4 separate regions of the Homo sapiens genome follow, and all the other regions are linked to region 2. The links are contacts of gene promoters, found by promoter capture Hi-C in human tissues and cell types (Jung and others, 2019). All regions are on one chromosome and are shown on one strand. Each heading gives the region's core, a stretch centred on a gene start or on the middle of the fragment in contact. The rest is flanking DNA. Distances are from core to core; before and after follow the strand shown. Region 1 has its middle 110 kb from the start of PALM2AKAP2-AS1. Region 2 holds the start of C9orf152 (chromosome 9 open reading frame 152). Region 3 has its middle 96 kb from the start of MIR3927. Region 4 has its middle 79 kb from the start of MIR3927.

The links. The method cuts DNA at HindIII sites, captures the fragments that hold promoters and counts their contacts. A contact is called where the count stands out against the background at its distance.
Region 1: a contact is called between a fragment that was not itself captured here and the fragment with the promoter of C9orf152 in region 2, in 1 of the 25 tissues and cell types used here (dorsolateral prefrontal cortex).
Region 3: a fragment that was not itself captured here is called in contact with the fragment with the promoter of C9orf152 in region 2 in 2 of the 25 tissues and cell types used here (IMR-90 fibroblasts and lymphoblastoid cells).
Region 4: a contact is called between a fragment that was not itself captured here and the fragment with the promoter of C9orf152 in region 2, in 1 of the 25 tissues and cell types used here (lymphoblastoid cells).

The regions. Positions count from the first base shown.
Region 1 is chr9:109,662,919-109,665,720 of GRCh38, reverse strand. It overlaps a transcript of PALM2AKAP2 not described here. Among named protein-coding and RNA genes, the nearest start is that of PALM2AKAP2-AS1, 110 kb to the left of the region's middle. The HindIII fragment of the contact is 3,209 bases long and covers 1-2,802 here.
Region 2 is chr9:110,206,860-110,209,688 of GRCh38, reverse strand. C9orf152 (chromosome 9 open reading frame 152) reads left to right here and starts at 1,530. Exons shown (of 2, transcript NM_001012993.3): 1 at 1,530-2,302. The coding sequence starts at 2,110. RefSeq lists enhancers at 1,860-2,360, 2,361-2,829. The HindIII fragment of the contact is 9,571 bases long and covers 1-2,829 here.
Region 3 is chr9:109,605,846-109,608,588 of GRCh38, reverse strand. No RefSeq gene overlaps it. Among named protein-coding and RNA genes, the nearest start is that of MIR3927, 96 kb to the right of the region's middle. The HindIII fragment of the contact is 6,131 bases long and covers 1-2,743 here.
Region 4 is chr9:109,589,057-109,591,756 of GRCh38, reverse strand. No RefSeq gene overlaps it. Among named protein-coding and RNA genes, the nearest start is that of MIR3927, 79 kb to the right of the region's middle. The HindIII fragment of the contact is 9,387 bases long and covers 1-2,700 here.

The DNA.
Region 1 (2,802 bases), core at 29-2,528, 540 kb after region 2:
AAGAGAGCAGTGGTTCTCCCAGCACAGCATTTGAGCTCCAACAACGGACAGACTGCCTCCTCAAGTGGGTCCCTGACCGCCACGTAGCCTAACTGGGAGACACCTCCCAGTAGGGGTAAACAGACACCTCATATAGGCGGCTGCCCCTCTGGGACAAAGCTTCCAGAGGAAGGATCAGGCAGCAATATTTGCTGTTCTGCAGCCTCCGCTGGCGATACCCAGGCAAACAGTGTCCGGAGTGCAACTCTAGCAAACTCCAACAGACCTGCATCTAAAGGACCTGACTGTTAGAAGGAAAACTAACAAACAGAAAGGAATAGCATCAACATCAACAAAAAGGTCATCTACACCAAAACCCCATCTGTAGGTCACCAATATCAAAGACCAAAGGTAGATAAAACCAACAAGATGGGTAGAAACCAGAGGAGAAAAGCTGAAAATTCTAAAAATCAGAACGCCTCTTCTCCTCCAAAGGAGCGCGGGTACTTGCCAGCAATGGAACAAAGATGGACGGAGAATGACTTTGACGAGTTGACAGAAGGAGGCTTCAGAAGGTCGGTAATAACAAACTTCTCAGAGCTAAAGGAGGAGGTTCGAACCCATCGCAAGGAAGCCAAAAACTTTGAAAAAAGATTAGATGAACGACTAACTAGAACAAACACTGTAGAGAAGAACTTAAATGACCTGATGGAGCTGAAAACCTTGGCACGAGAACTTTGTGACACATGCACAAGCTTCAATAGCCGATTCAATCAAGTGGAAGAAAGGGTATCAGTGACTGAAGATCAAATTAATGAAATGAAGTGATAAAGTTAGAGAAAAAAGAGCAAAAAGGAACAAACAAAGCTTCCAAGAAATATGGGACTATGTGAAAAGACCAAACTACATTTGATTGGTGTACCAGAAAGTGATGGGGAGAATGGAACCAAGTTGTAAAACACTCTTCAGGGTATTATCCAGGAGAACTTCCCCAACATAGCAAGGCAGGCCAACACTCAAATTCAGGAAATACAGAGAACACCACAAAGATACTCCTCAAGAAGAGCAACCCCAACACACATAATTGTCAGATTCACCAAGGTTGAAATGAAGGAAAAAGTGTTAAGGGCAGCCAGAGAGAAAGGTTGAGTTACCCACAAAGGGAAGCCCATCAGACTAACAGCAGATCTCTTAGCAGAAACTCTACAAGCCAGAAGAGAGTGGGGACCAATATTCAACATTCTTAAAGAAAAGAATTTTCAACCCAGAATTTCATATCCAGTCAAACCAAGCTTCAAAAGTGAATGAGAAATAAAATCCTTTACAGAGAAGCAAATGCTGAGAGATTTTGTCACCACCAGGCCTGCCTTACAAGAGCTCCTGAAGGAGGCACTAAACATGGAAAGAAACAACCGGTACCAGCCACCGCAAAAACAGGCAAAACTGTAAAGACCATCAATGCTATGAAGAAACTGCATCAATTAATGGGCAAAATAACCAGCAAATATCATAATGACAGAATCAAATACACACATAACAATATTAACATTAAATGTAAATGGGCTAAATGCCCCAATTAAAAGACACAGACTGGCAAATTGGAGAAAGAGTCAAGACCCATCAGTGTGTTGTATTCAGGACACCCATCTCACGTGCAAAGACACACACAGGCTCAAAATAAACGGATGGAGGAAGATCTACCAAGCAAATGAAAAACAAAAAAAAGGCAGGGGTTGCAATCCTAGTCTCTGATAAAACAGACTTTAAACCAACAAAGATCAAAAGAGACAAAGAAGGCCATTACATAATGGTAAAGGGATCAATTCAACAAGAAGACCTAACTATCCTAAATAGATATGCACCCAATACAGCAGCACCCAGAGTCATAAAGCAAGTCCTTAGAGACCTACAAAGAGACTTAGACTCCCACACAATAATAATGGGAGACTATAACACCCCACTGTCAATATCAGACAGATCAATGAGATGGAAGGTTAACAAGGATATCCAGGACCTGAACTCAGCTCTGCAACAAGCAGACCTAATAGACATCTACAGAACTCTCCACCCCAAATCAACAGAATATACATTCTTCTTAGCACCACATCACACTTATTATAAAATTGACCACATAATTAGAAGTAAAGCCCTCCTCAGCAAATGTAAAAGAACAGAAATCACAACAAACTGTCTGTCAGACCACAGTGCAATCAAATTAGAACTCAGGATTAAGAAACTCACTCAAAACCACACAACTACATGGAAACTGAACAACTTGCTCCTGAATGACTACTGGGTAAATAAGAAAGTGAAGGCAGAAATAAAGAAGTTCTTTGAAACCAATGAGAACAAAGACACAGTGTACCAGAATCTCTGGGACACATTTAAAGCAGTGTGTAGAGGGAAATTTATAGCACTAAATGCCCACAAGAGAAAGCAGGAAAGATCTAAAATCAACACCCTAACATCACAATTAAAAGAACTAGAGAAGCAAGCAAACACATTCAAAAGCTAGCAGAAGGCAAGAAATAACTAAGATCAGAGCAGAACTGAAAGAGATAGAGACACAAAAAACCTTTCAAAAAATCAATGAATCCGGAAGCTTGTTTTTGAAAAGATCAACAAAATTGGTAGACCGCTAGCCAAACTAATAAAGAAGAAAGGAGAGAAGAATCAAATACAAGGAGAGAAGAATCAAATAGATGCAATAAAAAAATGATAAAGGGGATATCAGCACCAATCCCACAAAAATACAAGCTATCATCAGAGAATACTATAAACACCTCTACGCAAATAAACTTGAAAATCTAGAAGAAATGGATA
Region 2 (2,829 bases), core at 281-2,780:
CTCCAGGGCACAATCAATACACCCACCTCAGCCTCCCAAAGTGCTGGGATTACAGTTGTGAGCCATTGTGGCCAGCCTACTGCCATGATGTCTACTGCCATGATTTCATGGCAGGTGCAGCTGGTCCAGCATGGATGGGTTGCTCTTGCCTTCATGATAGAGTGATCTACCGATAAAAAGGTATGAGGAAGCTTTGGCTATCTCTCTCGGTATTTTTTTGAGACAGATTGAGCTCTAATCCAATGTGATTGCTGTACTTATAAAAAGGGGAAAATTGGGCACAGAGACACCCACATAGGAAGAACATCATATTAGGCCGGGTGTGGTGGCTCACGCCTGTAATCCCAGCACTTTGGGAGGCCAAGGCGGGCGGATCACAAGGTCAGGAGATCGAGACCACGGTGAAACCCTGTCTCTACGAAAAATACAAAAAATTAGCTGGGCGCGGTGGCGGGTGCCTGTAGTCCCAGCTACTCGGGAGGCTGAGGCAGGAGAATGATGCGAACCCGGGAGGCAGAGCTTGCAGTGAGCTGAGATTACGCCACTGCACTCCAGCCTGGGCGACAGAGTGAGACTCCCTCTCAAAAAAAAAATAAAATAAAAAAATAAAAAGGAAGAACATCATGTCAAGATAAAGGCAGAGATTAGGCAATGTTTTTGCAAGCCAAAGAATACCAGAGATTGCTAGCAAACCATCAGAAGCAAGGTGAGAGGCATGGAACAGATACTCTCACACAGCTCCAAGAAGAAACCAACCCTGCTCACACCTTGACTTTGGACTTCTAACCTCCAGAACTCTGAGACAATAATGTTTGTTGTTTAAGACATCCAGTTTGTGGGATTTCGTTATGGCAGCCCTAGCAAAACTAACATATACTACCCAGTGAAGATTTGCTCTCCATCTTCCACGGCTCCCCCACATCAAATGACTAGATCTTGTCTGGTTAATGTCCAAAATGTCTTGTAGGTTCAGGCTCTACTCTGTTTCCATTGCCTCTGTAGACATATTGGGTAATTGGGTAATCAGTAAGCACCGTGATAGGAGAAGATAGAAAGGGACTTAGTTGACCAAATGCAGCAAGGCTAGGTCAAAGCTGGTGTAAGAGGGAGAGGGTCTGGGATTCAAAAGCAATGTGGAAATGTTGAGGCTGGCAAGCAGAGAGTGAGGGGATGCCTAACTTACCACTTGGTTGGAGAATGCTGAGACGGCAGAGGCTGCACCAAATGTCCAAGGGGTAGGGCTGGCCCGAGGCCAAGATTCCCCTGGGCTCTGTCCCATGGCTGACTTTAGGGCTGAATTTTCACCTGGGGTGTGTGTTGGGGTCTGAGTGGAGATCTTGGGGAGATCTTTGCTACTGGGTTTCTTTAGGGTGTGGCCGCGGGGCACACATCCAGAGGCACCGACCTTGTGAAGCTCCCGAGGGTGTTCTTTGAACTACTGCAAACCCAACCGGCAGGTTTGCTGAAAAGTGGCCACGTTCCAGTCCAAAATGTGTGAGCAGAGCGCGAGCTTAGCACTCCCCAGCCCCAGTCCCAGCTCTGCCAGGAAAGGGGAGACTTCACCGTGGCACTGGGAATTGGATTCTAAACTTTAGGATCAAGCAATGGAAGGACCTGGAATAAGACACCTTCTTGACCCCCCTGAAGGGCTCTGAGCAGCTGGGCTTGCCTTTCTCTTTGCTCCCCCAGTCCTCCCCTTACTTCTCGGTCTCCCACTCCCCATCACTCCTTTCCCTGCCTCCTCCTGCCTGTCTCCATCTTCCTCCCTCTCTTTCTTCTCTCGCCCCATTAATCCCCGCTTGTCACTATCACCTCCTTCCTCCAGTCTTTCCCCCTTCGCTGCCCCTTCTTTCCTCTGACATTTCCTTCTCCTCTTACTGCCACTGTCTCCCACCTTTCTCCTCCCCCACATTTCTCCCTATCCCTACCTCCTCTTCCCCTTCATCTTTCTCCTTCCCCCTTATTTTTCTATCTCCTTCCTCAGTCCCACTCCTCTTTCCACCCTCCTTTTGCCCGTCACTTCTCCTTCTCCCTCACTGCCCCCTCCCTCTCTCTCCCCTCCCCAGGTCCTGCCCCACCCAGCTGTGTTTGCTTTTCTCCCGGATCCGGATGGAGGGGTTGCCCTGCCCGTGCCCAGCCCTGCCCCACTTCTGGCAGCTTAGGTCTCACTTAATGGCTGAGGGCTCCAGGACTCAGGCCCCTGGGAAAGGGCCCCCACTCAGCATCCAGTTCCTGCGAGCCCAGTATGAAGGCTTGAAGAGGCAGCAGAGGACCCAGGCCCACCTCCTGGTGCTTCCAAAAGGTAGGAATGGACAGGTGCTGGGGAAGGAGAGACTTACCATGGGAGACCTGAGTGGCAGAGCTGCAGGGAGGCAGAGCCAGGGCTTTGCCAGCCCTCCCTCCCAGTGGGGAAGAGCAGGGGAGGCGGGCTCAGGGCAGCTCTGCTCAGCTGTCCCACCTGCTAAGGGAGCCAGGGGCCTCAGCCAAGCACCTGGCTGCCAGCACTGTTCCTGGCCTCTGCTCTGATGTTCTAATCTTGCTAGACTGGTCAGCCTGGTGAGCCAGGCTTGGCCCCCCTGCTAGCCCAGGTATGGCGATAGGAGCTCTGCTTCCTGGCTGGGTCTAACTAAGGCACCTCCTACAAACCAGAGAAATTCACTCTGGAGGTAGAAGACATGGCGTTCCCAACAGCCTGGGAACTGTCTGGGCCAGAGGACGCCTAGGGCTCAGAGACCCATGAGGCATCCCAGGCTCATCCAGCCTCAAACATCAGGCAGGGAGGTGTGATTGGACACAGAAACCCCCTCATGGGGAGAAACCTCCTCCCTT
Region 3 (2,743 bases), core at 47-2,546, 600 kb after region 2:
TGACTAAGTTACCCTGGCTAAAATTCTTGTTAAAGCTCAGGTTCTTGATTGATGAAGATAATAATAGTGCCTACCATTGCGCATTGCTGTGAAGGGAAAATAAGGTCATATGTGCAAACAGGCAATTTGTAAATTGCAAAGTTTTGGTACAAATGGTAATTGTTGTCTCTGGGAAGGTCTGAGCATTATAAAGTCCTTTCTTAATCAGCTAAAAGCTGCCTCCTATATCTCCCTAATTCTCCGAATTCAGTCTCTGCCACATAGTTGGCATATGACAAATATTTGTTGAATAATAGGAAAAAAGGGAGGAGGGAAGGAAGGAAGGAAAGAAGGAGGGAAGGAAGGAAGGAAGGAAGGAAGGAAGGAAGGAAGGAAGGAAGGAAAGAAGGAAGGAAAGAAGGAAGAAAGGAAGGGAGCATGGCCCTGCTGACATCTTGATTTCAGACTTCTAATCTCTAGATTCATAAGAGAATTCATCTGTGTTGCTTTAAGTCATGAAGTTTGTGGTACAGGCAAACCTTGCAGATATTGTGGGTTCAGTTCTAGACCACCACAATAAAATGATTATCATAATAAGCAAGTCACACTAATTTTTTGGTTTTCCAGTGTATATAAAAGTTATGTTTATACTATACTGTAGTCTATTAAGTTTGCAATATAATTGTCTTTGCTAAAAGTACAGAGCTTAATTTTAAAATGCCTTATTGCTAAAAAAAGAAAAAAAGAAAAAAAAAGCTAGTCATCATGTGAGCCTTCAACAAGTCATACAATATCTTCACAGTATCTTCGCTGGTGGAGGGTCTTGTTAATGGCTTCTGACTGATCAGGTCGTGGCTGCTGAAGGTTAAAGTGATTGTGGCAATTTCTTAAAATGAGACAACAATAAAGTTTGCCACACTGATTGATTCTTCCTTCATGAAAGATTTCTCTGTAGCATGCAATGCTCCTTGATAGCATTTTACCCACAGTAGAAATTTTTTCAAAATTGGAGTCAATCCGCTCAAATCCGGATGCTGCTTTATCAACTAAGTTTATGTAATATTCTAAATCCTTTGTTGTCATTGCAACAATGTTCACAGCATCTTCATCAGGAGTATATTTTATCTCAAGAAACCACTTTCTTTGCTCAGCCATAAGAAGCAACTTCTTGTCCATTCAGGTTTTAATCATGAGATTGCAGCAATTCAGTCACACCTTTAGGCTCCACTCCTAATTCTTAGTTCTCATCATTTCCACCACATCTACAGTGACTTCCTCCCCTGAAGTCTTGAACTGCTCAAAGTCATCCATGAGAGTTGAATAATCAACTTCTTCCAAACTCCTGTTGATGTTGATATTTTGACCCCCCATGGATTACAAATGTTCTTTTTTTGTTGTTGTTTTGTTTTGTTTTTTTTTTTTTGTTTTTAGACGGAGCCTCGCTCTGTGGCCAGGCTGGAATGCAGTGGTGCGATCTCAGCTCACTGCAACCTCCACCTCCCAGGTTCAAGCGATTCTCCTGCCTCAGCCCCCCAAGTAGCTGGGATTACAGGCACATGCCACCATGCCCAGCTAATTTTTGTATTTTTAGTAGAGACGGGGTTTCACCATGTTGGCCAGGATGGTCTCTATCTCTTGACCTTGTGATCTGCCCACCTTGGCCTCCCAAAGTGCTGGGATTACAGGCATGAGCCACCACGCCTGGCTGGATTACGAATGCTCTTAATGGCATCTAGGATGGTGAGTTCTTTCCAGAAGGTTCTCAATTTACTTTGCCCAGATCCATCAGAGGAATCACTGTCTGTGGGAGCTCTAGCCTTATAAAGTGTATTTCTTAAATAAGAAGACTTGAAAGTAAAACTTACTCTTGGATCTATGGGCTGCAGAATGTATGTTGTGTTATCAGGCATGAAAACAACATCAATCTCATACATCTCCATCAGAGCTCTTAGGTGACTAAGTACATTGTCAGTGGGCAGTAATATTTTGAAATGAATCTTTTTTTGAACAGTAAGTTTCAACGGTGGGCTTAAAATATTCAGTAAACCATGACGTAAACAGATGTGCTATTATCATGTTTTATTGTTCCATTTATAGAGAGCCCAGGCGGAGCAGATTTAGCATAATTCTTAAGGGCTCTGAGATTTTCGGAATGGTAAATAATCATTGGCTTCTACTTAAAGACGCCAGTTGCATTAGCCCCTAACAAGAGTCAGCATGTCCTTTGAAGATTTGAAGCCAGACATTGACTTCTCTTCTATAGCTATGAAAGTCTTACATGGCATCTTCTTCCAACAGAAGGCTGTTTTGTCTCCACTGAAAATCTGTAGTTTAGTGTAGCCAGTTCCATCAGTGATCTTAGATAGATCTTCTGGACAATGTTGCAGTTTCTACATCAGCACTTGCTGCTTCCCCTTATACTTTTCTGTTATAGAGACAGCTGCTTTCCTTAAACCTCATTAATCAACCTCTGTTAGCTTCAAATTTTTCTTCCGCAGCTTCTTCACCTCTCTCAGCCTTCATAGAATTGAGGAGAGTTAATGCCTTGCTAAGGATTAGGCTTTGGCTTAAGGGAATGTTGTGGCTGCTTTGATCTTCTGTCCAGTCCACTAAAGCTTTCTCCATATCTGCAATAAGGCTGTTTCGCCTTCTTATCATTTGTGTGTTCAATGGAGTAGCACTTTTAATTTCCTTTGAGAACTTTTCTTTGCACTCAGAACTTGGCTAACTTTTTGGTGCAAGAGGCCTAGCTCTTGGCCTATCT
Region 4 (2,700 bases), core at 91-2,590, 620 kb after region 2:
CCGAGAAGTAACAGATCTGGACAACCTCCACAGTCTTGGATAACCTTTTTTTTTTTTTTGTAACTGAAACATAATGATTCGCTAAGTCAGGGGTCAGAAATGGTTTGAAACACAAGAGAAAATCTCCCTCAGAGTAGCTCCTCTAGCTCCTCTCAAAAATTCATGAGTTGCTGTTGGATGGATTCTTTTATTGTGATTTCAGCTTTCCCTGTCTAAGTTACTGCTTCTCCTGCTAGATTTACTTAGAGATGGGACTGTCTGTTCTGGAACCTTCTTCCCAGTCAAAAGCAGAAATGCAATAGAAGTTTCTGCTATGAGAACACAGGCTACTAGACATATTTTTTGGCCTTGCAATTTTTTGGATAAATATTTACTAAGCAGCCACAAAGTGACTGGCACCATTAAGTCTGCATGTCAGAAACTTTCAAGTAATAGTTTCTGCTTTGCGCCAGGAAAAGCAAATACCTTGTGTATTATCTCTTTTGTGATGAGAAGAGCAGACATCCTGATGGAGACAGCTCTTAGTGGAGCCATCACTCACTGTCATCTCAGCCCATTTTATCCGTGTGGTCATAGGACTCCACCGCCAGGGATCCAGGCCCCTACATGAACATGCCACTAGCCTGGTGACTGTGCGCTGGCATTGGCTCGAGACTTTGGTGTTGGCTTGGGCCTGAGCCAGCCCAGCACATATTTTCTTTGTAGATTAAACCTGAACTAAAAATCAGACCACAGGCAAAGTATGGCCCAGAGTGGGAAGGAAACCTCTTCCCCACTCCTGGCCAGAACACTGCCAGGCAGTGCAGGGACAACACAGGAGCACTTCAAGAGTTGGCAGCTTCAGCAGCCCTAGGAGACAGACCCCTTGCCATGAACATCAGCATCCCACCATGAGTGCTCACAGCAGCGGCAGAGTTGAGGCACTACTTTATGAAGTCTCATAGGCAAAGGGATCAAGAGACTCCTCTGAAGGCAGGAGAGAAACTCACAGCAGAGGATTAGAGGTGGCCAAAAGTGCTGACAGTTCAATGGAGGAACTCACATGAGATGTGCCCTGGAGGCTAGTGGACTCAGGAGAGGTTCAATTAAACACTAGCTGAAGGCCAAGGTGTCAGATTTTACAGGACACAAAACGTGACTGGGTTTTTTTTCTTTGGTGAACATGTGCTAAATCCCAAAGATGGAGTGGGAACTCTAAGCTTAAAGAGAAGACTGTAGTTCACCACTCTTAATCAATATAGTACTAGAAGTCCTAACCAGAGCAATTAAACAAGAGAAAGAATAAAGAGCATCCAAACTGGAAAAGAGAAAGTCAAATTGTCCCAGTGTGCAGACAACATTTATATAGAAAAACCTAAAGACTCCAGAACTCTTAGAACTGATAACTGAGGCCGGGAGTGGTGGCTCACGCCTGTAATCCAACACTTTGGGAGGCTGAAGTGGGTAGATCACTTGAGGTCAGGAGTTGGAGACCAGCCTGGCCAACATGGCAAAACCCTGTCTCTACTAAAAATACAAAAAATTAGCCAGGCATGGTGGCGTGAGCCTGTAGTCCCAGCTACTCAGAAGGCTGAGGCACGAGAATCACTTGAACCTGGAAGGTGGAGGTTGCAGTGAGCCAAGATTGAGCCACTGCACTCCAACTCCAGCCTAGGTAATAGAGCAAGACTCTGTTTCAAAAAAAAAAAAAAAAAAAGAACTGATAAATGAATTCAGTAAAGTTGCAGGATACAAAATCAGCATGCATAAATCAGTAGCAATTCTGTATACCAGTAACAAACTAGCTAAAAAAGAAATCAAGAAAGCAATCCCATTTACAATAGCTACAAAACAAATATCTAAGAATAAACTTAACCAAGCAGGTGAAAGATCTCTACTTAACTGTAAAACGCTGATGAAAAAATTGAAGACACACACAAAAAATGGAAAGACATTCCATATTGATGGATCAGAAGAATTAATGTTGTCAAAATGACCACATTACCCAAAGCGATCTACAGATTCAATGTGATCCCTATTAAAATACCAATGACATTCTTCACAGATATAGGAAAAACTGTCCTAAAATTTGTATGAAACTACAAAAGACCCCAAAAAGCCAAAGCAATCCTGAACAAAAATAAAGCTAGAGGTATCATGCTATCTGACTTCAAAATATACTACAAAGCTATAATAATCAAAACAGAACGGTAGTGGCATAAAAAGACACATAAACCAATGGGACAGAATACAGAAGACAGAAATAAATCCCCTTATGCCAAGTGCACTGTAGCAAGCAAGGAAGATGCAAAACAGAATCTCAACTCTCTATTCCTGCCTCACCTTCTTTGCCCTCTCCATTATTCCAGCTCTAGACATTTACTTAATCTCCTGCAGAAAAACAAATAATGGGATCTCCATCAGAGTCAAACGCATAATCAACCCAGGGAATGCAAGCAATGCATAGGCACCTGACAGGCATCAAATGGATCAATAAGCAGAGAGGATAAATGAACAGCTGGCAACTCTTCAGTCCAAGATAAGCATGAAGCTGATTCTCCAGGTTCATTGCCCAAAGCACCTTAAAGAACAGTGAGAGAACTCCTTGCAAGGCAAAAAGAAAGTGGCCCTGCCCTACCCATAGATCACTCCCCCCCTCAAGCCCTGGTGTGTTCTCTTCAGCATTTACATGCTTGTAGAAGAGCCAGGTCAACCTAGATT